Regions from separate parts of the Homo sapiens genome. Here regions 1, 2, 3, 4, 6 and 7 are each linked to region 5. Evidence: promoter capture Hi-C in 16 types of primary human blood cells and fetal thymus (Javierre and others, 2016). All regions are on one chromosome and are shown on one strand. Each heading gives the region's core, a stretch centred on a gene start or on the middle of the fragment in contact. The rest is flanking DNA. Distances are from core to core; before and after follow the strand shown.

Region 1 (3,600 bases), core at 203-2,702, 640 kb before region 5:
CCAGCCTCGGCCTCCTGAGGTGCCGGGATTGTAGACGGAGTCTGGTTCACTCAGTGCTCAATGTTGCCCAGGCTGGAGTGCAGTGGCGTGATCTCGGCTCGCTACAACCTCCACCTCCCAGCCGCCTGCCTTGGCCTCCCAAAGTGCTGAGATTGCAGCCTCTGCCCGGCCGCCACCCCGTCTGGGAAGGGAGGAGCGTCTCCGCCTGGCCACCCATCGTCTGGGATGTGAGGAGCCCCTCTGCCCGGCTGCCCAGTCTGGGAAGTGAGGAGCGCCTCTTCCTGGCCGCCATCCCGTCTAGGAAGTGAGGAGCGTCTCTGCCCAGCTGCCCATCATCTGAGATGTGGGGAGCGCCTCTGCCCGGCTGCGACCCCGTCTGGGAGGTGAGAAGCGTCTCTGCCCGGCCGCCCTGTCTGAGAAGTGAGGAGCCCCTCCGCCTGGCAGCTGCCCCGTCTGGGAAGTGAGGAGCACCCCGCCCGGCAGCCGCCCCGTCTGGGAAGTGAGGAGCGTCTCCGCCTGGCAGCCGCCCCATCCGGGAGGGAGGTGGGAGGTCAGCCCCCGCCCGGCCAGCAGCCCCGTCCGGGAGGGAGGTCGGGGATCAGCCCCCGCCCGGCCAGCCGCCCCGTCCGGGAGGGAGGTGGGGGGTCAGCCGCGGCCTGGCCAGCCGCCCCGTCCGGGAGGGAGGTGGAGGGTCAGCCCCCCACCGGCCAGCCGCCCTGTCCGGGAGGGAGGTGGGGGGTCAGCCCCCACCCGGCCAGCTGCCCCGTCTGGGAGGGAGGTGGGGGGCGCCTCTGCCCGGCTGCCCCTTCTGGGAAGTGAGGAGCCCCTCTGCCCGGCCACCACCCCGTCTGGGAGGTGTACCCAACAGCTCATTGAGAACGGGCCATGATGACGATGGCGGTTTTGTGGAATAGAAAAGGGGGAAAGGTGGGGAAAAGATAGAGAAATCAGATTGTTGCTGTGTCTGTGTAGAAAGAAGTAGACATGGGAGACTTCATTTTGTTCTGTACTGGGAGGGGTTCTTCTGCCTTGGGATACTGTTGATCTGTGACCTTGACCCCAGCCCTGTGCTCTCTGGGGCATGTGCTGTGTCCACTCAGGGTTAAATGGATTAAGGGCGGTGCAAGATGTGCTTTGTTAAACAGATACTTGAAGACAGCATGCTCGTTAAGAGTCATCACCACTCCCTAATCTCAAGTACCCAGGGACACAAACACTGCGGAAGGCCGCAGGGTCCTCTGCCTAGGAAAACCAGAGACCTTTGTTCACTTGTTTATCTGCTGACCTTCCCTCCACTATTGTCCTATGACCCTGCCAAATCCCCCTCTGCGAGAAACACCCAAGAATGATCAATTAAAAAAAAAAAAAAGAAAGAAAGAAAGAAAGAAAAGAAGCAGAGTTGGACTCAGCGGGAAAATAGGCGTGCTACCACCTCAGGAGAGTTCCAGGGAAGAACCCCACCCGCACTCCAATGAGGTCACAATGGCTGGAGCTCTGAGGGGCCCAGGCTCCCTGAGCCAGGAGGAGAGGAGAAAGTCCAAGGAAAGATGGCTGGCAGTCACCCCTACTTCAACCTGCCTGACTCCACACACCCATCGCCGCCCTCCGCTCCACCCAGCCTCCGCTGGCACCAGCGCTGCCAGCCCTCTGGTGCCACCAATGGCCTGCTGGTGGCCCTGCTGGGTGGGGGCCTGCCTGCTGGCTTCGTGGGCCCCCTTTCTCGTATGGCTTACCAGGGTTCCAACCTGCCCTCGCTGGAGCTGCTCATCTGTCGATGCCTCTTCCACCTCCCTATTGCCCTGCTACTTAAACTGCGTGGCGACCCCCTTCTGGGACCTCCTGACATCCGAGGCTGGGCCTGCTTCTGTGCCCTGCTCAACGTCCTCAGCATTGGATGTGCCTACAGTGCAGTTCAGGTGGTGCCCGCTGGCAACGCTGCCACTGTTCGCAAAGGTTCTTCCACCGTATGCTCCGCTGTCCTCACCCTCTGCCTTGAGAGCCAGGGTCTCGGTGGCTACGAGTGGTGTGGACTGTTGGGCAGCATCCTAGGACTAATCATCATTCTGGGACCTGGACTCTGGACACTACAGGAGGGGACCACAGGTGTCTACACCACCCTGGGCTATGTGCAGGCTTTCCTGGGAGGCCTGGCGCTGTCCCTGGGGCTTCTGGTCTATCGTTCTCTGCACTTTCCCTCCTGCCTCCCAACAGTGGCCTTCCTATCTGGCTTGGTGGGGCTGCTGGGCTGTGTGCCAGGCCTCTTTGTGCTGCAGACCCCCGTGTTGCCCAGTGACCTCCTGAGTTGGAGTTGTGTGGGGGCAGAGGGGATCCTCGCCTTGGTCTCCTTCACATGTGTGGGCTATGCGGTCACCAAGGCCCACCCTGCCCTGGTGTGCGCTGTCCTGCATTCCGAGGTGGTTGTGGCCCTTATACTGCAGTATTATATGCTCCATGAGACTGTGGCACTTTCTGACATCATGGGGGCAGGGGTTGTGCTGGGCAGCATTGCCATCATTACAGCCCGGAACCTCAGCTGTGAGAGGACAGGGAAGGTGGAGGAGTGAGATAGAACTTGGGAGCCCGGGGGTTGGGAGGGACAGGGATAAATAAAGACAAAGACTGAAGACAAAAAAAAAATAAAAGAAAAAAAATAATTATAATAAATCCTAGGAAAGAGTGAAAGTCTAACTTCCATAGCACATTATAATATTGAGATGTTCAGTTATAATAAAAATATCACAAAGCATGCAAACAAATGAGAAATCTGGCTTATTTACAGGAATAAAATTAATTGAACTATCCTTAAGGAATCCCAGACTTTGGACTTACTAGACAAAGACTAAACAATTGTCTTAAATATGCACAAGAGTTAAAAGACAACTAAATGAAATCAGAGAAATGATGTTTGAACAAAATGAGAATATCAATAAAAATATAAAAATTATAGAAAGGAACCAGGTAGAAATTTTGTAGCTGAAACGTGCGACAACTGAGATGAGAAATTCACTAGAAGGGTTCGATAGAGTTTGTTTGTTTTTTGTTTTTTGCTTTTTTTTTTCTGAGACAGAATCTTGCTCTGTCACACAGGCTGGAGTGCAGTGGCATGATCTCAGCTCACTGTAACATCCGCCTTCTGGGTTCAAGCAATTCTCCTACATCAGCCTCCCAAGTAGCTGAGATTACAGGTGCATGCCACCACACGCAGCTAATTTTTGTATTTTTAGTAGAGATGAGGTTTCACTATGTTGGCCAGGCTGGTCTCAAACTCCTGACCTTGTGATCCACCCGCCTTGGCCTCCCAAAATGCTGGGATTGCAGGCATTAGCCACCACGCCCAGCCTTCCGTAGAGTTTTTGATCAGGCAGAAGAAAGGATCAGCAAATTTGAAGATAGGATTATTGAAATTATCCACTCTGAGGAGCATAAAGAAAAAGAATAAAAATAGTGAATAGACTTCAAGACTTGTAGGATACCATCAAGTGGACCAACATATGGTTTATGAGAGTCCTAGAAAAAAGCAAAAAAGTGTTTTAAAAATGAGGGCTGAAAACATCCCAGATTTGATGAAAGACATAAGTGTACAAATCCAAGAAGCCTCTA
Region 2 (3,683 bases), core at 339-2,838, 610 kb before region 5:
CGAGTAGCTGGGACTACAGGCACATACCACCACGCCTGGCTAATTTTTTTTATTTTTGGTAGAGATGGGCTCTCGCTATGTTGCCCAGGCTGGTCTTCTAACTCCTGGCCTCAAGTGATCTGCCCGCCTCAAGTGATCTGCCCACCTCACCTTTCCAAAGTGCTGGGATTACAGATGTGAGCTACTGTGCCCAGCCTAAAATACATTTTATTTTGCCTCTGAATATCCCAGACTTGTCGTAGGCCCTTGACTTAACATCTCCAGACTGGTCCTTTGCTCTCTTTCTGTTTCCTAACTTAGGCAAAGTGAGACACACATCTCCCAGTGAATCACTTTGACTTTTAGTTGTTTGAGAACCAAGGGAAGTACAGGTGCAAACTGGAAGGGAAGAGTGTGGGATTTGGAGAGAATGGGGTAAGAGAATAAGAAGAGGGGAGAGAAGATAAGAAGAATGATGAGGAAGAGGTAAAAACTCTGGGGGGTAATGGGAAGAAACCGGTGACAAGCATAGGGTTAACAGTCAGGTGAGAGGAGAAACAGAAGAGAGAGTCGTGGGCAGGGAAATAGAGGCCTGAGTGTGAGAGAGATAAGAATTGAAGGTGTGGGAATTGAGGATGAAGAGGAAGTAGAGATTTGGAGGCTGGCAGAAAATTACAGTTCTTATTTTAAAAGACTTCTCACAGGACTCATTGCATTCTAGATGTTGCCAACTTGTGTGGGTTAATTTTCCCTTTAGGAAACGATTTGGAAAGGACAGTGTGATTTTGTCTGACATAAGGAAACCCCCCGATCATGTCTTTCACAGTGGTAAGAGATCAATAGGTCTTGCTTTTATTTTTATCTCTAATTTTCAAGGCACAAAGAGGTGGCTCGTGAAATTGGTGCGTGCAGCAGCTCATAGCTGAATTTATGACTCAAAGAGAAGTTATTGAGGCACTGGTATTTCACTTAAAAATACGTATTTTACCCAAAGGATTATAAATCATGCTGCTATAAAGACACATGCACACGTATGTTTATTGCGGCACTATTCACAATAGCAAAGACTTGGAACCAACCCAAATGTCCAACAATGATAGACTGGATTAAGAAAATTTGGCACATATACACCATGAAATACTATGCAGCCATAAAAAATGGTGAGTTCATGTCCTTTGTAGGGACATGGATGAAGCTGGAAACCATCATTCTGAGCAAAGTATCGCAAGGACGAAAAACCAAACACCGCATGTTCTCACTCATAGGTGGGAATTGAACATTGAGAACACATGGACACAGGAAGGGGAACATCACACACTGGGGCCTGTTGTGGGGTGGGGGAGGGGGGAGGGATAGCATTAGGAGACACACCTAATGTTAAATGACTAGTTAATGGGTGCAGCACACCAGCATGGCACATGTATACATATGTAACAAACCTGCACATTTTACACATGTACCCTAAAACTTAAAGTATAATAAAAAAATATATATTTTTAATGCTGCTGCTTGTTCAAGTGATAAAAGAACAGAAGAATTCTTTTGACCTTGAAGTTTTTGGAATAATATATTTTGATGTTATTGGAAATGAAAACTTTGTTTCCTGTCTTTTTGTGTTTTAAGTTAACTTATTGACTTGGAGAGAATACAAACAAAAATCAAGAATAGAAACGAAAAGACACATACACACACACACACATAGACACTCACACACACATACACGCACATACACACATACACGCACATACACACATACACACATGCACATACACACATACACAGACACACGCACACACATACCCACACACGCACACACACAGACACACATACACACACATACACACATGCACACACATACACGCACACACACATACACATACACGCACACACACGCACATACACATACACACACATCCACACAGACACACACACACACCTCTCAAGCTCTTCTAATCAGGATTTTACTGCTTCAAAAATGTTTTTATGTCTAGGCATGGTGGCTCACACCTGTAATCCCAGCAATTTGGGAGGCTGAGGTGGGAGGATCACTTGAGTCTGGGAGTTCAAGACTAGCCTGGGCAATATAGTGAGACCCTGTCTCCACAAGAAATTAAAAATGAGCTGGGCATGGTGGCACGTGCCTGTAGTCCTAGCTACTTGGGAGGACCACTTGAGCCCACTAGATGGAGGCTGCAGTGAGCCATGATTGCATCACTGCACTCCAGCCTGAGCGACAGAGCAAGACTCTGTCCCCGCTGCCCCAAAAATAAGGTTTTGTAATGCCCCCAGTCCTTCCTGGTTCAGCATCAGCCTTTTGCTGCTCACCATGGGGAAGAGTGACAGTTTGCTGTAAGTGGGGAAAATTGGCACAGAGCAAGATCAACTTTACCTCTGTGTAATTAAGTATGATAAACTCATGGTTTGTGGGTTTTCTATACCAAGGTGGTGGTGGTGGTGAATAAGTCCGTTTCTCTATTCCTTTTCAAATGTGCACCTTGGAAGCAGAGTGAAGCCACTCTGTGTATACAGGGCTGGGAGGAACAGCACCCACTCTGGAGCCCGATGCCTAGCTGCAGCCCCATTTCCTCCACTTGTTCTCTGATCCTGGCAAGTTGCTTAACCTCTCGGTGCCTGTTTCCTTATCAGTAAAATGTGTTTACCTCCAAGGCTGTGTGGGAAAGAAATGGACTTATGTCCTTAGGACAGGGTCTGGCCCAGGCAGGTCCTATAGGAGCATTTGCTGTCATTACCTGGCGCGGGGTGGTTGTGACTTGTGATTCTTCCGTAAGAAAAATGCTGCCTAGTGCCCAGCTGTCTTAGTTATTGCGTGGCTACCAGTGAAATTCACAAGTCAACGGGGGAAAGGGGAAAGGTCCATTTAGTTCACAACCCTTTTCACGTTCGTGGTTTCAATTTATGTTCCTTGCAGGTCCATTCATTTATTCTGATATCTTGGATTACAAGAATCTTCGGGAGATCGTGGTAAACAACCGCATCACCTGGCTGTTTCATTACAGCGCTTTGCTCAGCGCCTTTGGAGAAGCAAATGTTTCCCTGGCGAGAGCAGTGAATATAACTGGTAAGCATCTGGCTCTGGCTGGATGTGATTTATTTGCCAGTTTTTCTAGTTCTTTAAGAAGAGATGTTTTCAGATTCTGATAGTGTCTGTTCATTTCAGGCCTGCATAACATCCTGGATGTCGCTGCGGAACACAATCTGCAATTGTTTGTGCCTAGCACGATTGGGGCTTTTGGACCCACCTCTCCCCGGAACCCAACCCCCGATCTCTGTATTCAGAGACCCAGGACCATCTATGGGGTGTCCAAGGTCCACGCGGAGCTCATGGGAGAAGTAAGCATCACTCAGCTGGATTGCTGAATGTGCCCTGGCTGTCACGATTTGCTGTTTGCTTTCTCATTCGTTTTGCCTCCAAGGCCTGGTGATTCATCCCTGGAGGAACTTTACCTCTTCTTGGATCCCAGCCCCAGAGTCGCTTACTTAACTCACTGGGTTTGCCATGTAGCAGGTGTCTCCAGCTCCTGAAACCTCCTCAGCCATATGGGAACACTCAGCACTTCCTGGGTGCCCCGTGCCCAGCCCCGATCTCTTCATTTGCTGCTTGTCTTGTACTCCACCATTCTTTCTGGCTCCTAGTATTGGTAGCCATTGGTAGTAACTCTAAAACCTCAAACATCTTGGGTTTG
Region 3 (3,635 bases), core at 881-3,380, 580 kb before region 5:
AGGGGAAGAATAATTTCCCCTGAATAACTAAATGTGGGTTTTTGTTGTTGTTGTTTGTTTGTTTGAGATGGAGTTTCAATCTGTTGCCCAGGCTGGAGTGCAGTGGTGCAATCTTGTCTCACTGCAACCTCCACCTCCCGGATTCAAGCGATTCTCCTACCTCAGCCTCCCAAGTAGCTGGGATTATAGGCATGTGCCACCGCACCTGGCTAATTTTTGTATTTTTAGTAGAGAGGCGGTTTCACCATGTTGGCCAGGCTGGTCTCGAACTCCTGACCTCAGGTGATCCACCTGCATTGGCCTCTTAGAGTACTGGGATTACAGGCATGAGCCACCGTCCCCAGCCTGAATAACTAAATGTTTTTCAGCATCTAACATTTTCTTCTACAGGTTTGCTTTAAAAAAAAAATAAGAAAGAAAGAAACACTTCATGAATTTACATGTCATCCTTGTGCAGGTGCCATGCTAATCTTCTCTGTATCGTGCCAATTTTAGTATATGTGCTGCCAAAGCGAGCACCAGATTTGCTTTTTTATAAGTGTTTTTTAAAGAAATGGTATAATGAAACATACATATAGAAAGTGCATAAAACAAAAATGGACAGTTTCACAAATAGTTGTAAGGCAAAGTCCTGTGTAGCCCCTAACTAGCTTAAGAAGCAGAACCTTGCCAGCACGCAGAAGCATCTACAAATCTTGCAGGAGGCAGCACAGGCGCACCATTGACTTTAAGCTTTGCACCTGTCCTGTGAGGTGGGCATGCTTTTTCCTATTTTATATATGAGGACACCAGGATGCAGGTGGGCCACATGGCTCCCCCAGGGCCACACAGCTAGTGGGCAGTAGAGCGAGAATGAAACCCAGGCGTGTTGGAGCCTGACAGCACTAGCGCTGTTTCTGCAGGTGCTAAGGGGGAGGCTTGGCCACAGGGGTGGGCGGCAGGGCTGGAGGGCCAGCCTGGACGGTGGACAGGGAGAGAATGGACTCGGGGATTGAGGTCACCCTGCTGGGCAGGGAACGTGGGAGGAGAGACACAGAGCAGGTACTCTGAGGTGAAGAGGAAGCCTGCTCTGCTCCCCAAGAGTCCCTCCTCACCATGCCTTCCCCTCACTTCTCCCTGACAGTGTCAGGAGAGTCCGTCGTTCAGCTAAAGCTTGGGAGAGGGCGCCCTTGATTCCTCCGATTAGACAAAGAGGACCTTGGCAGGCAGGTCTGGGGACTTGCTAGTGCTGGGTCACTGAGGAGTGTCCTTTAAGGCGATGGGAGCCGAGGGGAAGACGGAATTACTCCCAGAGAGAAGGCTCCCAGCTACGCTAGCTCACAGCCCTCAAGTCCACTGCTATACTGGGTGGCCTGAGGACTTGTGCCAAGTTCCAAGTGAGATAAGACAGAAAACAAGTCACTGGTCAAGGACAGGTCAAGGTAAAGCCAGCCAGAAGAGTTATCATTCCAAGAAGTTCACAAGGCCATTATACAGCCTTTGGAACGAGACATTTCTGCTTTTCCATAAGCAGCTGGGAATTTCTGAGACCTGTTTACAGAGAATTAGAACTTCTAATAAAGGATATGTGACCAATATCACTTTCACCCTTGGCCTCCATCTGCCCTGTTCCCACACCTCCCTAGGTAAACTTTATTCTAGTTTCTCATGCATCTTTTCAGAGCTTTAAAAGTGCATATCTGAGCAAATCAAACACTAGATTTGTATTTCCGCTCCATGACAAGTTTAACAATCTAGAAGTTGGGTCGGTGGATTGTCTCCTACACCACCGAACCTGTCTCTGAGTCCCAAGCATCAGTCAGTCTAGCTAAACTGTCAACAGTTGCATCTTATTTCGGGCAGCAGTGTTACAGGTGGGCTGCCACCAAAGTTAGACATCCATATGGCGCGAGTATTTCACGAGAGGCATTTCTATGAGAACAAAAGAAAAACCAATGTTAGTAATTAGAATAAACTAGAAACTCGGTTTTTAAGCTCAGAAAGCAGCCAGGTGAGAAGATTTCTGGGTTTTGGCTGAAAGCATCTTCAGCTGGGGTGGGAGCAGGCCGTGGCAGTTTGACAGGTTTCCCCACTTTACAGTTTGCATCAGGTGTTCCAGGGGCGTTTCTGAGTAGTCCATATAGCAGCAGGCGTGAGGACCACGCATACATAAGTTGCTGTGCTTTCTCTACGGCTTGTGTCAAGTCATCCAGTTTTCGTTCGCAGGGCTTCAGGAATAGAGCAGTTCTCATTTCAGTGATTCCAAACCAGAAGGGTGGGAGAAAAATATTAGTTTGGAGACCTGTAGCCAGACATTTCTGGAAACGAGAAGAATTCAGGATCCAGTCCAGATTGTAGGTGAGTAACAAAAACCTCAAAAACAATGAGCTGGAATCTAATAACGAGTGCATATAGTTTTCTTCTGAAATATTTTTCTTTCTATAGTCATTTCCATTTCTACCAAAGATTATCAAAGTAAGACTAATTTGTTCGCAAAGTAATGTTTGCAAAAGTAATGATTATTTGTGCAAGTGCCGCAACAATAGTGATTGACTATATAGGCTTTTTCAAAATTTGCTTTACTGGAACTTTTGATAAGGAACCTCAAGTTAGACTTTTAATAGCCTCTTGAGGCCAGAAGCCAGGCCACTAACTTGCCATCAGACTTTGCCTGCAATACCTACAGATCTGGGTGAATTCCTTTCTTCTCAGGATCCCCCAAATATTCTACAGTTCCTGGGCCTGTCAGAAAGTGACATTACTTACTCACTTGTAAGGTTAGAAACTCTTTTAAGCCAGGCCAGTTTTTCCAATGGGGGCTTTACTGGTTCCAGTAAAGTAAATAAACTTTACTGGTTTTAGTTCCTTAAAACTGTCTGGTCATGTCTGAAAATATAATATTCCAGTCAAAGCCTTGGTCATATAATCAGTGTTTCCACTTTTGTCCTGTTTCAAGGAGAATATACTTACTAAACTTGTGCAAGTAACTACAATTGTCATAAAAATAAGAGTACTCATAAATAGTTTCTAAATTCTGGAGGGATCAGGGAGGAAGAAAAAAAACGAAATGTTCTAATTTTGTTAACGATATACTAAATTGCTGTAAGTTATAGGTAGCTTAAAAGAAAAAAAGCTTTCCTTAAATCTGGAAAACAAAATATTTAAAGAAGAAACGTTTCAAATAAAAGTCATAAAAATTATCCCCTTCATTTCATGTAGTCTCATGTAGTTGATATTCTTGATCTTGGTTAGCAGTTTCATGAAACCACCAGTTTCTTCATAAGAGTTCTAGAAATTTGTACCCCATCCAATGGTGTGATCTTAAAGTTATCAGAAACCTTTATTGCAGAGTAGAGCCTTTTTTATGAATCTCCTTGAAGAAGCAATTTTGGGCTGTAGCTGATTACAAATGCTTTCAGAGAAGAATCAAAGTAAAACAATAACTGCCTGTGGATGAAAAAAGACATTCAATGGCCATGGTTAAAGATTTGATGAGAGTTCACCATCATAATGATGAAATTGTCAAAGAAATGTGGTTATTTCTGTGGCATATTGCATTTTAATACAATAACTAAAATTATGACTGATAGCATTATACTAGGACATATCAGATTTCTAGGAATTATGTATAATTTCTGGAACACTTGTATCAATAT
Region 4 (4,012 bases), core at 368-2,867, 540 kb before region 5:
GGACTGGACAAAGGCCGCCTGGATGGCGTTGCCTCGCACGCCCATGCTGTGCACATGCATTCAATTCTGCGTAAGGGTGAAAAGAGAAAGAAAGCTGCAGCTTCAACAGGGATGGTGATTCCGGCCGGTCTCCCTGCTTGCGCTCTGAGAGAACATGAGGAGGGGGCTGGGAATTGCAACTTCCTCAGTGGGCTTTGGTTCTGAGGGCATCTCACAGCGTGAGCATCTCGCTAGGATGCACTATGGGTTCTCACATTTAGATGCTCACAATACATAGTGTGTTGGGATCCCTGCACACAAATCAACAAATTCATCTCCTGCCCCAAAGAACAGGGTTTGTCCCCGTGATGCGGGAGCCCTGGCTGTGCTGGGCCCATGCTCGGCTGCTCCCTGGGCCACACAGACATTTTGCAAAGGTGACTTTGCACCTTAAACACTAACTTGAGCCCCGATTAGGAGGTCACTCTGCTGTAATTGAACCAAATCCACACGAGTTCCCACAGACTCTGAAGAAATCTGAGCAAAATGTGCAAGAATAAGAGGCTTAATTTGTTTCTAGAATTTTTTTCTAGTTGTGATAAAATCCATACAACATAGAAGTTATCATCTTAACCATTTTTAAGTGTACAGCTCGGTGGCAATTAAGTACATTCACGTTGTCGCGCAACCACCATCCATCTCCAGAGCTCTTTTTATCGTTCTAAACAGAAACTGCATCCATCAAACACTAACTCCCCATCCCCCTCCTCCAGCCCCTGGCACCCACCCTTCTACTTTCTGTCTGTATGACTACTCTAAGAACCTCACAGAAGTAGAATCACACAGTATTTGTCCTTTGTGAGTGGCTAATTTCACTTAGCATAATGTCCTCTGGTTTCTGATGGCTAAGAAGCTTTTTATAAATTAATCTTTTTAGAGATTTGCAATGAAGATATGTCTTTGCTGGTCCTGTGTGGAGTTAGTCGGGAGGACGGCGGTTGCCCGGGAAGGCACAGAGGGCTGCGCCAGTTCAGGAGAGCAGGTCTGAGCTGGGACTGGAGTGCCTCCTCCTGTTTTCCCTTCAAGCTCTGCCAAGGGGCCCCCTGGAGGCGGGGATGACAACACAGCCCCGGCTGCAGCCGCACACGTTTGACATAGATTGTTTCATCATGTTTTCCCACAACTCTAGATGGCAGGTGTGATTTTAGTCTGTCTTACAAGGAAACTGTCTCAGAGAAGTAAAGGAACGGCTCATGGCCAGCCAGCCTATGGCATCTGGACCACACTCGGGCCTGTCAGCACCCAGAGCTGGAAGACTCTCCCAGGCTCCTGTCTGCTCAGAGGCGAGCTGGGCCCAGGGGTGGCAGAAAGGGAAAATCCACAGCCCTGGGTTAGAACCCAGGTTCAAGCTGAGCTCCACTCCTCACTCGTTGGGTGGCAAGTCACTGCCACCTGGAACTTCTGTGTCCTCATCTACAGAAAAGAGATAAGGCCTCTTCTCATCTCTTCTAAGGACAGTGAGAATGAAATTCGACAACAAATAGCATGGCAGAAAATATGAACTACGCTGGCCAAATCAAAGTAAGAGGTGCACCATCACTTAAGTCCTTTCTCTCCAGGCCAAGGCACAGAACATGGAACCCAGCAAGGACCTCCCAGTTTTAAGCCCTCATTAAAAGCCTGAAAAGCTGGCCAGGGTGACTCAACTCTCAGTGTGGGTTTCATGCTGTCTCTGGCAAAGGCTCTACCATAGGATGTGCCAATTTCCAGTCCCCGCTCCCAGCGTGGCCTGGTGTCTCTCTGAGAACAAAAGCACTTGCTGAATTCTCAGAGGTGCAGCCTGTAATCCCAGCAACCCCATAATTAGGGCACAGAACTTGTTGAAAGGGAAGAGATGTCATTGGTCGGGGGCTGTCCAAGCACTGTGGTGACAGGGTGTCCCCACCAGGCTTGGAAGAAGGGAAGGGCGGCAGCCACACGTGGCCCCTTTGAAACAGCTGTGCTTGTGATCTGTACTACAGATGTTTGTTTTTTTGGGGGCAGACAAGAATGCTCGTTAAGATGTGAGCCACTGCACCTGGGTGAAGTGTTGAAATGTTCTAAAATTATACGTGATGATGGTTGCACAACTCTGAAAACACTAAAAACCACTGAATTGCTATTTCAAATAGGTGAACTGTATGGTATGTAAAGTTTATCTCAATGAAGTCATTTTGAAAAATTTTAAACACCAATTAAAGAAAGAGAGCAAGAGAGAGAGCCAGGTTGTTTCTCAAGGTAGAAGGCAAACCCCCAAGAGCAGGATTAAGTCACTAAAGATGGTAATTAAATGGGTCTGGAAGAGGACAGAGATTTCCTTACTTCCAAGCTTTACGTGGTGAGGGGAGGGTGTGGCAAGGGGGCTGGAGGAGACGGCCAAGGCGGCCCTGGAAGAAGGACCCAGAGAGGAAAAACGCAAGGGGAAGGTCAGCCGAGGACATTCAGATCATAGAAAAGTCTAATGCATCAAGCCAGTGGTTTGCTGGGGGGTCTCTCTGGACCTGGGGATTTTCCTGGGGAGTCAGAAGAGCTGACTCCTACCCTCGGAGCTGGGTGGAATAAAACAAAAGCCTTAAGAAAGGTGTGGGAAACAGCATGGCGGGTCCCGGAAAGTTAAACAGAATTACCATATGACATGGCAATGCCACTCCAGGTACACACCCCAAACAAATGAAGGCAAAAGCTAGAACCTGGATTTGTACATCCACGTTCACAATCACCAATAGGCGGAACCAACCCAGTGCCCTCCACAGATGAATGGATCCACACAATGTGGCCTATCCATAAAGTGGAATATTATTCAGCCTTGAAAAGGAAGACAATCCTGGCACATGCCATAACATGGATGAATCTTGAGGACATTATGCTAAGTGAATTAGCCAGACACTAAAGGCCAAATACCGTAGGATTCCACTTAGAAGAGGTTCCTAGCGTAGTCCAATTCATAGTGATGGAAAGCAGGACAGTGGTGCCAAGGGCTGGGGAGAGGGGATGGGGAGTTAGCGTTTAGTGAGCACAGAGTTTCCATTTGGGAGGATGAAGTTCTCGAGATGGATGGTGGTGACGGCTGCACAGCAATGTGAATATATTTAGTGAACTGTACATATAAAATGGTACATTTTATATTATACATATTTTACTGACATTTAAACAACAACAGCAGAGTCTGCAAATTTAGAGCAATCAGTTCAATCCAGTTTGCCCAGGACCTACCTGGTTCTAGCACTGAGAATACTGCATCCAGGGGACCTCCTTAGTCCTGGGCAAATAGAGATGGCCGGTCAGCCTGCCTGCAGCAAGCGTGGCCGCAGGTGCTGGGGAATGGGGGCCCAGCCTGGACAGTTGGAGGGTGGTCTCAGTGATGTTGTCTCTAGCCTGAGTGACACTGGAAGCTGATGAGACCCTGAAGAGTAGTCTGGGAGGTAGAAGGGCCTCTCTGGGGGGTTACTGGAGATGGGGGCCACAGAAGGAGGGTACTGGACCAATTGGCAAAAAAAAAAAAAAAAAAAAAAAAAAGGATTTTGTTCTTTGCCAAAGGCCCGAGAGGCTGGCCGGGGTGACTCAACTCTCAGTGTGGGTTTCATGCTGTCCCTGGCAAAGGCTAGTCTAACATAGGATGTGCATTTGGGAAAGGCAGCATTTTTGTGGAATTTGCATCCTTACTCAACATCCCCTGGCTGATCTGTGTTCACTTGCTTGGTCTAAAACACTGAGTGATTTCTTCACATTCAAGGGAAGCAAATACTCTTAGTTGCCAATGAGATCTGCTCCAATACTTTCTCTGATCCCACGGACTGATGTCTATGGGTCTAAAACGGCCCAAAGATTTTAGGAATTAAAAATTTAAAAAAGGACATGTACTATCATCAGAGTGAACAGGCAACCTACAGAATGGGAGAAAATTTTTGCAATCTATCCATCTGACAAAGGGCTAATATCCAGAATCTACAAAGAACTTAAACAAATTTACAAGAAAAGAACAACCCCATCAAGA
Region 5 (3,611 bases), core at 225-2,724:
TGATTCCCATGCTTACTAATGGAGAGGTGGTGCAACTTTACACTCAAGACACTGCGTGCAGACTCTGTGGATTTAAACCTGGGACTAACTCTTGTCGTGTGACCTTGGAAAATATTCTTCATCTGCCAAATGGGAGAAATTGTAGATTTTATTGTGTGGAGTAATTTCCCTAATAGATGTAAACCACTCAAGTGTGTGACTGGTGTGTGGTTAGCTTTTGTTTCTATGGCCAGAATATATCATTGCTTGGGCCTGTGAACTTGTATTAATCAATAGAATTTGAATTTTTATTATTATTTTTTGAGACGGAATCTCACTCTGTTGTCCAGGCTGGAGTGCAGTGTCGTGATCTCTTTTCAATGCAACCTCCGTCTCCCGGGTTCAAGCAATTCTCCTGCCTCAGCCTCCTGAGTAGCTAGGATTACATGCACCCACCACACCCGGAAGATTTTTGTATTTTTAGTAGAGATGAGGTTTCACCATGTTGGCCAGGCTGGTCACAAACTCCTGACCTCAAGTGATCTGCTCACCTTAGCCTCCCAAAGTGTTGGGATTACAGGCGGGCAGGCGTGAGCCACTGCGCCTGGCCTGAATTTGAATTTGAAAGAGGAATGAGTGATTGGAGATGGGAGGGTAGGAAAAATAACAGGGGATGCATTTCATGGCAGTGCTGCCTTTACAAAATGTTTCTGGAATTTTGCCAGTAAATTGTCAGAATGTGGTCCTCATTTCTGCCCATGGCTCACTTACGAGCTCTAAGATCCTGACACACAGATTAGGAGTGTAGTACTTTGAGCCATTCACATATCCTTTTAATGAACCCATGGATCTTTGGCTTGCGGGGGTTGAAAACGTGTCATATTTTTACAGCAAGACAGAATATTGTGGCAGAACGCAATCCACCTGTATCCTGGCGGACACCCGAAGAAACATACGGCTTTCTGGCTAGTGCAGGTGCGAACTTTGACTCCATCATTCCCAAACATACCTTTTCCTGAAGCGGGGAGAGACCACAGAAAAGAAAAATCAATCTTAATGAGGCTGGGAGAAATCCTAGGCTTGCCATCACCTCCTGGTTGATGGCTTGTTAGTTGTGATTTACCTCACCTCTTATCACAACTCAGCAAGGCAGATAAAGCTCAGGGTAGCCAGAGGCATTGGAGGGGAGATAGGAATCTGGGTGGCTGCACGATCTGTGTGCACAATGACATCCACCCCCGTCCCCGGTGCACTGGCAGATCTTCCAGCTGCAGCAACAGCAGAGCAGGGCAGGAGCTGGGGTCCGCTCACCATGCCCCTAACATGGTGGCCCATTTGATATTGGTGTCCTGTTGCTGGGCTTATAGTTAGAGGGTTTTTTAAGCATCTCAATCTTTGGGAACACCCACTTTTATGTTCAGACTCACGCCCACTGTCTTACCTGAAGGCAGTAAGATCACCAGGAAAAAGAGTAATGCAGAAAGACAGAGGTTCATGGCCGAAGAGGGCACAGAGTTGGAACTCCCAGTGGTGTCTGCCTGGGAGGCTCCTTTATAGAGCTGGGCTGGGCTGCGATGGGTGGGGCTGGACCCTGGCCTCACTCTTCCTGGAGGGGCAGACTGAGGAGATCACAGGGTTCTGCAGAATTCGAGGAAGAAAAGGCCCTGGCCTTTCAGTGCTACCTCCTTTTCTACAAACCGCGGGAAAACCAGAGACTCAGCTAAGGCTGTCACGTTTCCTGATAGCAGAATAGGAGAAAAGACCAGGATCCCCATGCCTAGGCCTGAGCGCTTTCCCTCTGCCTTCAAATGTACTTTGATATAAACATGGCAGTGAAAATGTCTGCTCTGTCTCTCCTTTCCTCTGGAGCACCACTGAAAGCTCAGGAGCGCAGAGAAAGGGTGTTATGAAACACAGGCTGAATTTAAGCCTGGAAAGACAGTTCCGACACACGGAGTCTCTCAAATTGTCAACCAGTGGCCTGACCAAGAGAAGGTAGGGGCTCAGAACTAGTGGAGAAGGGACAGCTTCCTTGTCTAGCAGCTGACTTATTTACCTGGCTGAAGGCAGATACTGCAAAAAAAAAAAAAAAAAAAAGTCCTGGAAAAGTTCACTGATGGACTTTGTTCTCCAAATGGCTGGTATGAAACGTTGGCTAGGATGAGGGGACTCTGAAGGTTCTAGGAGAGATTTCTTTTTTGGAGTTGAGGAGTTGAAACTCTCCCTTAGAAGAGTCGGTTCAGTGCTGTGTTCAAGGTTGGATGCACAGTGTCCAGAGTGGAGCCAGACAGGGCTTCTCTGGAGTGACAGAGACTCAGCCCTGGAGAAGGGCCCTTAGGCCTGTCTCTCTTGGGGTGATGAGGGATGTCTGAGGGTGAAGATGACACTAACTTTGATTTTGTTCTGACCCTTAAGGCAGGCTTTTACGCAGGCAGCCAACAACCACAGGGCTGTGTGTGGTGTGTCAGTGGAGCATGGTATTCCTGGGTACACTCTGCTTTGCAGGCCTAGACCCTCAGATGCATTATTTAGCATCTCAGCCTCAAGAACTCCTCAAAAAGTGCATTGGAAGGTTATGCGTGGTTTTTTTTCAGGATGAAATGAGATACAGCTTATAAAATGCTTTGCACGCACACTGCCATACAGTAGGTACTCAATATTATTATTATTATTGTTTTTTGAGACAGTCTTGCTCATCACCCAGGCTGGAGTGCAATGGCCCAAACTCGGCTTACTGCAACCTCCATCTCCTGGGTTCGAACGATTCTCCTGCCTCAGCCTCCGAAGTAGCTGGGACTACAGGTGCCCACCACCACACCTGGCTAATTTTTGTATTTTTAGTAGAGATGGGGTTTTGCCACGTTGGCCAGGCTGGTCTGGAACTCCTGACCTCAGGGGATCCACTTGCCTCAGCCTTCCAAAGTGCTGGGATTACAGGCATGAGCCACCCCACCCAGCCAATACAGTAAGCACACATATTCTTAATTTTCTGGTTCTTGCTTACTAATCTTTCCCTACTCCCAGGTCATAAAACTATTTCCTATATTATCTTTCTTTTTTCTTTATTATTTTTCTTTCTCATTTAGCTCTATAACCACCTGTGATGATTTCTGTGTATGGTATAAATTAGGGGTCCTATTTAGTTTTCTTTTCCCCTATGGAAAACCAATTGTTTCAAGACCAAAAATTATTGAAAAGATTGTTGTTTCTCTACTGTCTAGCTGTGCCACCTTTGTTTTAAATCAGGCTCCACATATGCGTGAGTCTGATGCTGGGAACCTTAATCTGTTCTATTGTTCTATTTGTCTATACTTGCACTAATGCCATGCTGTCTTACTGCTATAGCTTCATAATAAGTTAATAAACTTTTAAATAAGATCTATCTATCATCTATCTATCTATCTATCTATCTATCTATCTATCTATCTATCTATCTATCTATGAGTCTGTCTCCAACAGAGCCAAATCTTCCCACTTATCTTTTTTGTGTGTGTGAGTGTCTTGGCTATTTTTGGTTCTTTTCATTTCCATACAGATTTTAGAATCAGATGGTCAAATTCCCCCAAACAACAGTTCATTATGCTGTTAGTCTTGATTTTTCTCTTTTGTGATGTACAACCTCCTGAATGCCT
Region 6 (3,723 bases), core at 890-3,389, 560 kb before region 5:
ATGATAGAAAGATGTAAGGGTTTCTTGCTTTTCAGTTGTAATGGGGGAAATGGCTACATTATTTAGGAACCGTAGCTTTTCAAAATTAGAAGGAAAGCCCCAAAGTAACAGATTAAGAAATTTAATAGGCTAATAATGGCTATTTATTTTCTTTATAAAGAAGTGGGTTCCAGGCTGGGCACAGTGCTCACGCCTGTAATCCCAGCACTTTGGGAGGCCGAGGCGGGTGAATCACCTGAGGTCAGGAGTTCAAGACCAGCCTGGCCAACATGGTGAAACCCCATCTCTACTGAAAATACAAAAAAAAATTAGCCAGGTGTTGTGGTGGGTGCCTGTAATCCCAGCTACTCGGGAGGCTGAGGCAGGAGAATGGCTTGAACCCGGGAGGCGGAGGTTGCAGTGAGTTGAGATCGCACCACTGCACTCCAGCCTGGGCAGCAGAGTGAGACTCTGTCAAAAAAAAAAAAAAAAAAAAAAAAAAAAAAAAAAAAAGAGAGAGAATTGGGTTGCAGAGGAAGATAAAACATGAACTTCAGCTTAAATGTCATGAGCAAAACCAAAGCGCTCTATGCATTTTCAGCATCTAGTCATTGTGTTTCCCAGAGCAGATACCGGGCTTGGCACGTACTAGATGCTAAAAAGTACTTGTAGAATTTAATCGAATTGTGACAGAGCACTCCAACCATAGGTTTTGGGTTTGAGCAGAAAACAGCATCTGAACTTTTAATTTTCCAGCAAACATGGCAAGTGACAGCAATTGCAAATGCCAAGAACACAAGCAACTATCACGGGCGTTTTTCAAACTGTTTCTCAGAATGCACCTCTAAAGAGATCTCCGTGTCTCCGGCAGGGGGCGCGTTAGGATTTCCTTAACACCATGGGTCCGCAGGATAAAAGTGAAAAAACCGTTTGTTTAAGAGGCAGAAGGGCAAGACCAGGACAGATATGTGTTCTCAGACCTCCTCTACTGTGGCTCTGACAGGGAGTAGGTGGAGGAGGCACTGCAGGGCAGAGCGAATGAACAGTTCCGACCACTCCAGCGCCTGGACCTGCTTCTTGTCATAGGAGGAGACCCCCCTGATTGCTGAAGCCCTCTGGCTCTGACAGCAGAGCCAGATGCTCTAAGAGACACGTGCTCTAAGTCATGTGTCCCAGCAGCTCGGGGGCGACATAAGGTCATGCCTCTCCTAATACTTTATGCGATATAATTCTGAGCCGCATTTCATCACGACAAACCTTTCTCCTCTCCCTTTTTCACCAAGACTCGCTTGTCCCTGGGGCTGCCCCTCACAGGTCTGCTCTGCCCCTTGAAGTGGAGGATGTCACCCCTCCATGGCCTGGGTTCCCAGTGTCATGGCCCCTGTGATGGGGCTCACCCACGTCCCACAGTCTGGCCTGTCTGGGATCACAGCGTTCCGGCAGTTAGAGATGCTTCAGTAGCGTTCATCTGGGAAGGAGCCAGGAGCCCTTTCTTCTGGAAGGCTTCTTGGCCCCAATACAATCACTTGTCCATCCCTCCCTAGCAATCTCAGTGGGGAGTGGAGGGTCTGGCTCCGGCAGAAGAAGAGGAGTCCTGACTTGCCTTTCCTCTCACTCACTGAAAGGGGCCATGCTGGCGTCTGTCTCAGGAAGACTCACTGTCTCGTCTGCTAGAAATAGAAGGGGCTGGAGTCTTTTAAACACAAATTCTCTTGCTTAAAAGAAATCAAGTTCTGCATCTCAGGGTGCCCTGCAACATTTTCATGATGGTTCCATCAGCTGTGTCTTTTCTGAGACAGAAAGAGAGAGAGAGCACGTAGGCAGCTTTGCAGAGCAAGGTGGCTGGATGGGAGCCAGGATCCAGGAGGTGACCCCGCTGTCCTTCTGTCCCCTGCAGAAAGTGGGCAGTAGGGCCTCCTGCCTTCCTGCTTTGGGCCCCCTGAAGGGCTGTGCTGTGTGGAGGTGACCTGCCAGGGGCCCGCCCAGAGATGAGAGGGGACTGCAGTCGCCCGCCTGGCTGGAGCTAGCTCTGGGCTCACATGGACAATGGGTGATGGCAGGCCACTCTGGGTGGTGGAATGGGGCGTCAGGGACTGGGGCCTTCTGCAGGGCTGCTGGGTCTTGCATCTGCTCCTGCCCCTGAGCCTCAAACTCAGAAGCTGTGATTTCTAGGCCCTGTTCTTAGACTTGACCAGAACATTCTGAAAAGGGGAGATGGGGGCAGTGCAGGAAAGGAAGGCTGGTTCATGTGCTTGCATTTGGTGACCATATCCCATCTTAAAAATAACCTCCTGCGTTTCACTGTTTCTTGCACCTTCTCTCTTTCTTGGCCTTCTCCCCATTTCTCTCTCTCCCTTCCTCTCTCTCTTGCTTCCTCTCTTCCTCCCCCTCTCTCTCCCCACCTTCTGTTTTCTACCCCTGGTGCTTCTGACATGGGCTTCATTGTGGGTTTGAGATAGGAGTTGGGGAGGGCTTGTTTTGCAGGGTACAGATCACAAAGACCCTGCTGATAAAATGAGATGTGGTCAAGAAGCCGATCAAAATCTAGCAAAACCAAGATGGGAACAAAGGCAACCTCTGGTCGTCCTCACTGCTCATTATACGCTAATTATAATGCATTAGCTGCTAAAAGGACACTCCCACCAGCGCCATGACAGTTCACAAGTGCTGTGGCAATGCCTGGAAGCTACCCTATATGGCCTGAAAGGGGGAGGAACCCTCAGTTACGAGAATTCCCTGCCCCTCTCCTCGAAAACTCATGAATGATCCACTCCTTCTTCAGCATATGATCAATAAAGAAATAGCCAACCAGCAGTCCCGGGCTGCTCTGCCTATGGAGTAGCCACTCTTTTATTCCTTTCCTTTCCTAATACATTTGCTTTCACTTGACTCTGTCGGCTCACTCTTGAATTTCTTCCTGTGCAAAGCCAAGAACCCATGTGGCCTCCCAGGCTGAACCCGGTTTAGGGGTTTGTCCTGTGACAGGTCTGTCAAGGGGAACAGAGCCCAGAGCAGATTGGCAGAAATATGGTGCCTTTTACCCAGCGACTCAGGTGTGTGCAGACGCCATATGTGGCCACACAGGGGCAGTAGGACACTGGGCAGAGGCTGTGCCCGTGCCACCTCGCATGAGGAAGCATCGTCCCTCATCCAGTTTGGCACAGCCTGAGGCTTGGATATGGGGTGAATCCAATGTGGCGCAGGCAAAGGCCGGGCCTCACTCTTGTCTGACTTGCCCTCCATCTGTGAAAATGTTTGTGCATTCCCCAACAGATTTATATAATATACATGTCTGTACCCATATATTATACATATTTAGAGCACATTGAAAGCAGAAAAGAAGAGGTTTAAAACATTAATAGAAGTTCTCGTCTTTTTGCGTGCATGTGACAAGGTTTCATTCTGTGGCCCAGGCTGAAGTGCAGTGGCGTGATCGTGGCTCACTGCAGCCTCGACCTCCCCAGGTTCAGGTGATCCTCTCATCTCAGCCTCCTGAGTAGCTGGGCATGTGGGTAGCTATTTTTTCTACTTTTTGTAGAGATAGGGTCTCACCATGTTGCCCAGGCTGGTCTAGAACTCCTGGGCTCAAGTGATCCTCCCACCTCGGCCTCCCAAATTGCTGGGATTACAGGCGGGAGCCACTGCACCTGGCCTCTTCTCTTCCTTTCACTCCATGCTGCATCATCTTGGTACTGCCCCGTGTCTACACTGCAAGTCAGAGTCTGCTGGTCAGGGTGTCCTTAG
Region 7 (3,825 bases), core at 531-3,030, 520 kb before region 5:
ATATCACCGTCACATGACAGATCATGACCCTCCAACTGCACTGAGCAGACACTCTGTTGGTCTCTGACCTGCTGGGTGGCCCAAGACAATCCCTGCCCCCTCACATCCTTCCCTGGACACCAAACGACACGAAGTCAGTTGATCCCACCTCCCCCAGATTTTCAGGTCTCAAAACTTAGTGGAGTCTGTTCTGCCATAGAAGGGAGAGAACAGCTCCACTTACTAAAACCATTCCATGCCTGCTCCCTTCCCTCTCTGCTCACATTGTGAATGCCCCGCCCACGGCTCGGGGTGTTGGAGAGACTCCACCCTGTGCTCTCTGCATGGCAGACCAAGGCCAGGCCCCAGAAGCCTGGTTTCTGGTCCCAGCACTGCTGACAAGCCGAGCACCCAGGCTCAGTCCTTTCCTCGTGGCCTCAGTTCCCTAATCTGTGCAATGGCTGAGGATCTATGGAACCTGGTATGTGAGAGCTCTCTTTAAACTGTAAAGAGCTGTACCCACCTGAATAGGCGTGTGTGCAATGTGGAGAGGCCTGAGTTGGGGAGTCACTATTTTAGAGCAGGTGGTCACCCGTAGCTGGCAGGAACGGGATTGCCCCCAGCACAGCCAGATGGTGAGGAGCTGCTGCAGGAATGGGATTGCCCCCAGCACAGTCAGACCGCGAGGAGTTGCTCAAGCAGCATGTGTTTTCCTGGTCGTCAGTGTTTGGGGAGCACTGTCCCCCTGGGTGCCCTGGTGCCTGAACAAGCCCAAAGGGGTTTCTTCCCTCCCACTAGGCACAGGAGCTCAGCTGGAATGTCACCCACACAGGCGCAGGGACGTGACAGCAGAAAAGCTTGTCACTGCTCACTGGGCACTGAGCTGGACCCGGCCTGAGCCGGCAGAGAGGTGCTGGCCGGGTGCCGGGGAACAGATGCCAGCACTGGGCAGCTTCCTGGGCTGGAAAAGCAGTGGAGGCCTCCCCTCGCTTGACAAACCAGGGACTCCTGGGGCCCAGGCCCCGGGAGGAAGAGCCCCCCAACACTCTAAACAAACGGGCTTTCTTTACATGTAACCTGGGTCGTTCCTAGGGGTGGAGGGGCCGGAGAAGGAAGCCAAAGGACGCTGCCAGACCTGGGACCTAGGGTGTCTAGAAAAACGACATCAGACCCTGTAATCCCACCAGGCCCAGGCACGCCCCGCCAGGCAGGCCACCCAGCAGCAGTGGGGACAAGCCCTTGGGGGGGCGCGTCAGCCTTTCTGCAGCTCTGTGTGCCAGTGCCGAGGACCCATGCCACACACAGAGACTGCTGTTCCAACAAGCTCCCTGGCTCCCAGGCCCACAGCGGCTCCTTGGAGGAGCCTTCGCCAACCATGAGCTAACTCCTCTGGCTGCTGGAGGAGCCAGGTGGGGGCAGCTCAGCCAACACCTTGTCTCATTATGACCTAATCTGTTCACCTGGAAAACGGTCACATCCACTTCCTCGATGGGCTCCCAAGGGCAGGGGAAGACGCAGGCACTGCTGACCCATCCCCTCCACACCTCCTCTCACCACGCGCTCCTGCTGTTCCTTCCAGCCTCGCATTCTCCACTAGAACCCTTTCGTTTCTTCTCCATAAGACACAATCTTTCCAACCCCGACCCAGCACTCCTGTCCCGCCGGACACCATGCTCTTTCACACCCCTGACTCGGCACAAGCTTTCCTCCAGCCTGGAAAGCCCTTCACTCCCTTCTGTGCCTTAGTTCAGTTCTCAGGGATTTTCTCCTGGGGGAAGTTTTGCTTGATTTGCCCAGGCTGGGCTGTGTGTACCCAGGACAACCCGAGCACATCAGAGAAACAATTATGTCATCGCAACATTAGCTAATGCTTACAGCACACCACACGAGCTGTGGTGCTAAAAGCTTTACATGTATTAACACATTTAATCCTCACAACAGCCCTATGAATCTGGGGTATCATCATCCCCATTTTACAGATGAAGAGACTGAGGCATAGACAGGTTCGGGACCTTGCCTGAAGCCACAGAGCTTATAAGTGGTGAAGCTGGGATTTGAACCTCTGCAGTCTAGCTCTGAGCTGGCCCCTAACCACTGGGCTTACTGCCCCTCTTAAGCCACAGCACTTACACCCAGGGCCTTTGTCAATGGTCGCCTCTAGCAGACTCTCAACTTCAGGACGAGAACCAAGCCTTTTATGCTGGACCCTCCAGTACTTAGCACAATGCTGCTCTCTTTAAATGCTGTGGAATGAATGAGCCAATAAAACAGATTTCCTCCCACTCACAGCGACCTGTCCTTGCTCAAATCTGAGCCAGCCTGGATGGGCTCAGAGAGGCAGAAAAAGACACCCAGGCTTCCTGGGATGGTGCCTCCCCTCCTGTCCCCACGGATGCCACCCACCCTGCCTGCCCTGACCACAAGTGTCCAGACATAGGTGTGCAGGCTCTGGGCCTGCAGTGGGACAAAGACAGGAACAGCTGCAGCTCATCCCAAATCCCAGGACTATGTGCTGGAGTTGGAGGGGACAGTCTGATGTGACAGACCTAGCTTGAGGGCCTCCTTGGAGTCCAGTGCAGGATGAGGTCATTTCCATCCAGCAGCTTCCTCCCTCTTCTGGAAAGTGCATCCCCCTTTCCCACAGGAGCCCATCCCTGGGGTTTCCTTTCTCCTGGGGCGTGGGGAGACACAGGATGAAGTTTTGGTGTCAGAACCACTCAGAGGCCAGCCTTGCTCTGAGCTGGCCGGGGCCGCTGGGGCCACCATGCTCAGCACATGTGGGGAAAGGGTCTAACTGGAGAGCAAAGCCAAGCCGACAGTGTGGCAGCTTGGCCATCACAGCCCAGTGGCAAGGAGCTGGGGGCCCGCAGCTGGGCCCCGTGGGAAGCCACCCGCCCTGCCCAGGTTACACAGCGTATACCTTCCGCCTTTTTTGCTTCAGCTACTTGGAGATGGGGTTTCTGACATTCGTAAGTGACTGACACAGCACGCACTGGAGAAGGAATATTAAAGAGCACAGTGGATGCTTGCTGCTATTTGTCTTTCGTTGGACTGTGTGTCTGTTTGCCATATCCAACACCCTCTCCTTTCCTGTGTGGAGGGAGCTCCCCATTTTGTGCAGAACAGCAGGCAGGCCGTGCAGCCTTCTCTGCAACCAGAGGACCACGTGCTCCTCTTCCCAGCTCATGCCCTGGTGACCAGGTGTGAGCATGTGACCTGAGCTTGGCCAGTCAGCTGTTCAGGCCCCGACTCTGAATTGGGTGCGTGTGAGTCTCAGAGGAAGGGATGGTTAGGGCGCATCTGTGAACCAACCCTGGAGGCAAATGTGAAGTGCAGGGGCGGTGGCATCCTCTTAGCCAAATTGTCTCTGCTGAAGGACTGGCCCGGGATCTCCTGCCTCTGCCTTCTGGATCTGCCCTGGTTCTGCCTGTTTTCTGGTCTTTACCTCCTGCCAATTCTGTGGGCACCTGACAGCCTTACAATAATGTCATTTTCTCTTGCTCACAACCAAGAGCTGTAACTGAAATGAGACAGGAAGCACAACTCATTTGGTGAGGAAAATATACAACTGAGAGCAAACCAGTGTCATAAAATGTCATGACAATCCAAAAGGCTCCCTCTGCCACCATTCCACGTGTCCCTTGGTGGTGGGGGGCAGGGAGGGGGTGCTGTGCGACCTCCCATTGAGAACCACAGGGTGGATGGTCACTGTCCTCCTAATGAAATCTTACTGAGTCTGTCCACATGCAGAGTTGACTTGTCTCCTAACTCACAATCCATGACAGGCTATGCTTGATGAGGACAGAATGACAATTTCGCATATGAGTGAATTTATCCTTGCTCTGC

Evidence for each region. Contacts are between HindIII fragments. The CHiCAGO score rates a contact against its expected background, and 5 or more counts as called.
Region 1: a contact is called between the fragment with the promoter of SLC35G5 here and the fragment with the promoter of DEFB136 in region 5, in 2 of 17 cell types (naive B cells and total B cells). The highest score is 7.4, in naive B cells.
Region 2: a fragment that was not itself captured here is called in contact with the fragment with the promoter of DEFB136 in region 5 in 1 of 17 cell types (total B cells); the score reaches 9.4 in total B cells.
Region 3: a contact is called between a fragment that was not itself captured here and the fragment with the promoter of DEFB136 in region 5, in 2 of 17 cell types (total B cells and naive B cells). The highest score is 6.3, in total B cells.
Region 4: a contact is called between a fragment that was not itself captured here and the fragment with the promoter of DEFB136 in region 5, in 1 of 17 cell types (naive CD4 T cells). The highest score is 5.2, in naive CD4 T cells.
Region 6: a contact is called between a fragment that was not itself captured here and the fragment with the promoter of DEFB136 in region 5, in 12 of 17 cell types (non-activated CD4 T cells, total B cells, naive B cells and 9 more). The highest score is 12.7, in non-activated CD4 T cells.
Region 7: a contact is called between a fragment that was not itself captured here and the fragment with the promoter of DEFB136 in region 5, in 1 of 17 cell types (naive B cells). The highest score is 5.7, in naive B cells.

What each region holds. Positions count from the first base shown.
Region 1 is chr8:11,329,560-11,333,159 of GRCh38, forward strand. SLC35G5 (solute carrier family 35 member G5) reads left to right here and starts at 1,453. Exons shown (of 1, transcript NM_054028.2): 1 at 1,453-2,801. The coding sequence starts at 1,548. The coding sequence ends at 2,564. It also overlaps a transcript of MTMR9 not described here. The HindIII fragment of the contact is 5,485 bases long and covers 1-3,600 here.
Region 2 is chr8:11,358,478-11,362,160 of GRCh38, forward strand. It overlaps the pseudogene TDH. Among named protein-coding and RNA genes, the nearest start is that of FAM167A-AS1, 8.1 kb to the right of the region's middle. The HindIII fragment of the contact is 4,642 bases long and covers 1-3,683 here.
Region 3 is chr8:11,391,999-11,395,633 of GRCh38, forward strand. The region is part of intron 2 of FAM167A-AS1 (FAM167A antisense RNA 1); the gene reads left to right. It also overlaps the pseudogene RNU6-1084P. Among named protein-coding and RNA genes, the nearest start is that of FAM167A-AS1, 25 kb to the left of the region's middle. The HindIII fragment of the contact is 1,960 bases long and covers 1,151-3,110 here.
Region 4 is chr8:11,428,386-11,432,397 of GRCh38, forward strand. The region is part of intron 2 of FAM167A (family with sequence similarity 167 member A); the gene reads right to left. The region is part of intron 3 of FAM167A-AS1 (FAM167A antisense RNA 1); the gene reads left to right. Among named protein-coding and RNA genes, the nearest start is that of FAM167A, 36 kb to the right of the region's middle. The HindIII fragment of the contact is 1,455 bases long and covers 891-2,345 here.
Region 5 is chr8:11,973,125-11,976,735 of GRCh38, forward strand. DEFB136 (defensin beta 136) reads right to left here and starts at 1,475. Exons shown (of 2, transcript NM_001033018.2): 1 at 1,421-1,475; 2 at 813-994. The coding sequence starts at 1,475. The coding sequence ends at 813. The HindIII fragment of the contact is 18,049 bases long and covers 1-3,611 here.
Region 6 is chr8:11,410,816-11,414,538 of GRCh38, forward strand. All of the region lies in intron 3 of FAM167A-AS1 (FAM167A antisense RNA 1), which reads left to right. Among named protein-coding and RNA genes, the nearest start is that of FAM167A-AS1, 44 kb to the left of the region's middle. RefSeq lists an enhancer at 685-979. The HindIII fragment of the contact is 4,489 bases long and covers 1-3,723 here.
Region 7 is chr8:11,448,467-11,452,291 of GRCh38, forward strand. The region is part of intron 1 of FAM167A (family with sequence similarity 167 member A); the gene reads right to left. Among named protein-coding and RNA genes, the nearest start is that of FAM167A, 16 kb to the right of the region's middle. RefSeq lists enhancers at 3,242-3,817, 3,750-3,799, 3,818-3,825. The HindIII fragment of the contact is 204 bases long and covers 1,679-1,882 here.